Linked DNA regions of Homo sapiens: region 2 is linked to region 1. Evidence: promoter capture Hi-C in human tissues and cell types (Jung and others, 2019). All regions are on one chromosome and are shown on one strand. Each heading gives the region's core, a stretch centred on a gene start or on the middle of the fragment in contact. The rest is flanking DNA. Distances are from core to core; before and after follow the strand shown. Region 1 holds the start of GPR85 (G protein-coupled receptor 85). Region 2 has its middle 5.1 kb from the start of HRAT17.

What was found. Contacts are between HindIII fragments. The study calls those that stand out against the background at their distance.
Region 2: a contact is called between a fragment that was not itself captured here and the fragment with the promoter of GPR85 in region 1, in 2 of the 25 tissues and cell types used here (IMR-90 fibroblasts and spleen).

The regions. Positions count from the first base shown.
Region 1 is chr7:113,085,360-113,088,140 of GRCh38, forward strand. GPR85 (G protein-coupled receptor 85) reads right to left here and starts at 1,468. Exons shown (of 3, transcript NM_001146267.2): 1 at 963-1,468; 2 at 633-750. RefSeq lists a silencer at 1,154-1,213. The HindIII fragment of the contact is 9,773 bases long and covers 1-2,781 here.
Region 2 is chr7:112,999,438-113,002,137 of GRCh38, forward strand. No RefSeq gene overlaps it. Among named protein-coding and RNA genes, the nearest start is that of HRAT17, 5.1 kb to the left of the region's middle. The HindIII fragment of the contact is 7,892 bases long and covers 1-2,700 here.

The DNA of each region.
Region 1 (2,781 bases), core at 218-2,717:
ATAAGAGTATTTGTTGATTCATCTTAAAGCAAAATTTCAAAATTAACTTCAAAATTAATAGGAACTTACTTGTCCCAAGATTTGATGTGATTTAATCATTTGTCTTTCCCTCTCCACCCTACCCCCCATTTCTGGCAAATCTTTTAAGCCCACATGATTATTAAAATGGTTAATGTAAATATTGGACAGGGAAACACACCCAGAGGAATAATGCACTTCCATTTGTAAACCTTGGCTGCCTGGATTCAAATGAATATAACATGAACCTGTATTTCTTGGGCAATTAAGCCTTTCCCATTTACACTGATAACCTTTGTTGCAAATCACAAGTGGCTGCTTTTTAAAACAAAATGCACATTGTCTCGCAGGTGCCTGGACCACACCAGGGAAATCGGCTTCCTCTGTTATTCCCACCAAGCGTGTTTCTTTTGCCACTTCTCACTGGCCCGGAATATGCTGGTGGAAGCCCAGGCAAAACTGCGTTCGATGATTTTAATTTCCCCACCGGTACATCCTCGGGTAAATACCGATCGCATCATGCAACATTACGAAACCTGAAATCCGCCACCCCTGGATTTATAATGGGGGGAGGGTGGAGGAGGGGGAGAGGGAGAGAGACATGCATTACATACGCGAAGATGGGGAGAGAGATTGCTTCTGTGCTGCAAAGGAACCGTTCCCGGTGATTCGCAGTCTGATATTCCTCAGTCTTGTAAGGCTTTCCAGAAATGGAGCTCTCAGTAAGCCCTACTGAAGATGCATTGTCTGAATGTACTTCCATTATGCAGTTTATTGTCACAAAACACATACACACACACACACACACACACACACAGAGACACACACACACACACACACACACACAACCTGAGGGAGGGCTCTTTCTCGGTGAACCTGCAGTTTCATCAACACTGTGCATTCCCCCACATCCCCCAAACTTAACCAAGAGTATATCCTCCTACCTGTTGGTGTTGGATATCCCGACAGACTATAGCTTCTTTCTATAAATTGCTGATTTTTTTCTTTTTTTCTTTTTCTTTTTTTTTTTTTTTTTTTTGTTTTTTGTTTTTTTTTTTTTTTTTTTTGCCTTAGTGCCTTGACTGAGCATCCAGGCAGGGCTCGGCGGCGCCTGCGCGCTGGAGCCTCCTTGAGCTCCAGCCGCGTCCTCCCCTGTCGCAGCGGCACCGTCTCCCCCAGTAACGCAGGGGCCGCGGCGGCGGCGGCTGCGGTGGCGAGGGCGGCGGCGGGGCTGCTTCAGCCTCTGTGGAACCAGCAGGAACCCCTACCTGACTCCAGAGCTGGCTGGGTTTATTGACTGCCCTGTCCAATCCAACTGGCAGCATTAAGCTTTTGTCCCTTCGTGGCTGCTTCTGAACTTTTCCCTCCCCGCATTTGTAGTGGGGGGCTGGAAAGGCCCTTTCAGGACCTCAGGCCCATCCTCTTCCCAAAGGCAGCGCACGAGGAAGTCACAGTGCCCGTGACGCCCGCCCCCTCCCTCAGCTTCCCGGAACCCTAACCTTCCCCAGACACTTTCTTCCCTTTTCTTTTAGGGTGGTCCAAACCACCGGAGGCTTCTTTTATATATTTATTTTTAAGTGATGTCTCCAGCTAACCTTTAAATTTGCAGGTTAGCTGGAAAAAGACAAGAAAAGAATGGGAAAAAAGAAAAAAAGTTATTTATTTATTTATTTATCTTTTTCCCACAGTTAAAAATCTTTTCAATGGGGAAGAAGGGAAGGCACGTTAGGGCAGCTCTCTCTTTGTTAGTCATCTTCTATTCTCCAATGCACGCAAATATGCGTAAAAGTAGGGAGAAAGCTAAGTTCAGAGGACAACTACAATATGATTTACATTCAGTCTACCTTAAAGGATGTCACTAAAGAATCAGGCTTATAAAATGTTTAAATGGCTATTCCTGGCATTCCACCCCACCAAGCAACAGTATTCCTTTTCCCTTCTTACAAGTTCCGCTGACCAATGATGGGTGATGTCAAAGCAGTTATGTGTACGAGTTTCCTTTTTTCCCCTTTGTTATTACAGATGAAAAATACTAGAAATATAACAAATACGTAAAACTTACACCAGTCCAAACGGTCGGATGATACCACAGACACCACAAAGCCTGACACGTGGGTGCTTAGGAATGCCTCTAGAATCATGCATTTTCTTATTTTACCATTTCCGAAGAGTTTTGTTTGTGGAGGTGATATAAAATTTTAAGCAACAACTTCCCAGTTCTCCTACCCAAAACTAGCAGACACGCTTTCATTAATTCCCAATGTAAAACGTCTGCTTCTTTTTCTGCATGCTTTTTGCTTTATAATAATCTGTTAATGAAACAAAAAATAAAAATCTTCTCTACAGTAATAATCTGATCTTGAGACAGCAGTAAAATACCTCATTGCTGGGTGGTGAGATTGTGACATTCAGGGGAACTCAGGCCAATCAGCATACAGATAATATGGGTTAATTTACATACTGTATTTCTATTGGATGAGCCGAGGTAAAGCCTTATCTTGATGTCACAGTCGTTACACAAAGCCCTATGTTGGTAATACTGAAATGATGTTAAATTTCCCTGATTTGTTCTTGAATTTCCTACGTCCATTTAAATACATGGATAATAGTTTGTTTTTTTCGAAAAGAATATACACAAGGCACTAAACTTTGGCATTCCCTTAACCTAGAAAAATCAATCCTACAGCCATGCTGGAAGTAACTTGAGGGCATTTCCATTCAAATAAAACATTCCACTTTTTGCAAAGCAAATGAATTCAAAAC
Region 2 (2,700 bases), core at 11-2,510, 86 kb before region 1:
TGCGCTCAGCCCAGAATGGCTATTGTTAAAAAGTCAAAAAATAACAGATGCTGGAGAGGTTGTGGTGGAAAGGGAAAACTTATACACTATTGGTGGGAGTGTAAATTAGTTCAGCCATTGTGGAAAGCAGTGTGATGATTCCTCAAAGAGCTAAAAATAGTACTACCATTTGACCCAGCAATCCTATTACTGGGTGTATACTCAAGGAATAGAAATCAGTCTACCATAAAGACACGTGCATGCAAATGTTCATTGCAGCACCATTCACAATACTATTCACAATAGTAAAGACATGGAATCAACCTAAATGCCCATCAAAGGTGGACTGGATAAAGAAAATGTGGTACATATACACCATGGAATACTATGTGGCCATAAATAAGGAAATTATGTCTTTTGCAGGAACATGGATGGAGCTGGAGCCCATTATCCTCGGCAAACTAATGCAGGATCAGTAAACCAAATACCACATCTTCTCACTTATAAGTGGGAGCTAAATGATGAAAACACATGGACACATAGAGAACAACAGACACTGGGACCTACCTGAGGGTGCAAGGTGGTAGGGAGGAAAGGATCAGAAAAAATAACTATTGGGTACTAGGCTTAGCTCCTGGATGATGAAATAATCTGTATAGCAACCCCCCATGACATGAGTTTACCTATATTACAAACCTGCACATGTACCTCTGAACCTAAAATAAAAGTTGTTTTTTTAAAAAGAAACACAAGTAATCCCCTTTTTATCCAGGGTTTCATTTTCTGTGATTTCAACCACAGTCCAAAAATATTAAATGGAAAATTCCAGAAATAAGCAATTCATAACTTTAAAAAAATAAAAAATAAAAATGATTTTCATTATAATACTCAAAGTCTCATATGCACAATGCTACCATTTTAAGTGCTGTTTGTTGTTTTAATTTCCTAGTCTAAGTATTTGTAAGAAAAAAACAGTTTCTATGATTCCAAATTTGCTCAATGGCCCAAAGGATAAGCACAACTTGCCTCTCCTACCAACAGATATTTTGAATTTACTCTGTTGCTGGGGAGCATATTGGTCTGCATTTTCTGATGTTTGTGGCAGAGGATGGCTCAGTCCTGGTTAAGTGTGGTCAAAAGTAGAACTTAACACAACTTTAAGATTAAACACACAAAGACGACCCACGTTTTGTGGCTTTAAAACTCTTACGTGTAGCCTTACATGTAGATTCGGATTTTTTTTATGGTGGTGTGTTCTCAGTATATATTCATGTATTCACTCTTCTTACTTAATAGTTCGTATAGAGATTAAGAAATCTCTCTTAATTGTTAAAACAGATTTCTCTCAGGCTCTCCAGCTTCTGGTACAGACAAACTGTACAGGAAATGCAGCTGCTTCTCTTGTTTCTTAATGACTAATTATTGTATCCTAGTGCCTTGCACATACTGCTTAGAGTTGAATTCAAGTAGATTGTTGTTTTTTAAGAGTATCCTAGCAGTAAGATTAGGATTTTTCCATGGGTTATTTTACTCAATAAAACAGCACGGTAGCATGTGCCCTTTCTTTCTGTAAATATAGATGAAGAAATATCTTCTCAAACAAGCTATGCTTTACCCAACTGATAGCATTGAAAAATTAAAAGATTATAGTGAATAATATATGCGTATTAGGATCCTTAAAAGACTGGATAATTGGAGTTGTCAGTACAATAATCACCTCAGTTTTGAGTGTCATCTTTCAGGTAAATTAGACTCAGATTTGACACAGAGAAGTAATAGAAAAATAATTTGAAAAACCATTTAAAATGTTTGCTTTGCTCAAGCTTTCGAGTTCAAGTTTAGTTCTATAAATTAAATACCCACATCCATAGTTACTTAATTAGAGGATAAACCAATTCTCAAAACATTTAGTAATAATAGCAATAAATAGGTGTAATATATCTGCCAAGCAAGTGTCAAGTCTTATATTTTGCATTATCTCATTTAATAGTCACAGTTATTGTTACCACTATTTTACAGGTGAGGAAACTGAGACTTAGGGAAATTAAGTAACTTATTCGAATTTGCATAGTTAATAAGTGGTAGAATTTTAATTCGGTACTGTTAATCCTTACAGTTCAAAAATGATAGTATTTTTCAATAAAATGGAAATTTGTTTTTAATGAAAATGGAAATTTCCCTTGCTTGGCACTTGATGTTGTCTCAGAAACCCAATCTGAAGAAGAGATTTGCATTTCTTCTATTTCATCCAATTCACCCTCAACCTGGGAATATTCATAAAAAAGAGAACAAATTGTGTAGATATTGGGAACAGCTTGTTTGAAACCCATTAACTTTTACTTTTTAACTATCAAGATTTTAACCACTGTGGGTATTAGGTGAAATCTATCACTTAAGAAAATTGCAAATGCCTCCCTTGGGAGGAAATTAACTCAAATCTATGAAGCTAAGACTACAAACTCTGTGACTGGATGGTACACACTTTAGCAGCACTAGTCAATTAAACCTCATAATCCTATTGAAATAGAGCACTAGCTTTCCCAAGAGGCCACATCAGCTGACATCTATAACCTTCAACTTCAGATGCCCCTTGGAGTTTTTATTCTGGGTAGTCTGTCACTGGTTCCTGTTAGCTGTCTGAGGGGCTGGGAGTGGCAGCAGATTTCTAGATTTTCCAGGTTTGTGCAACCTAATGGGAGATAAAGCATCTGTTCTTGATCC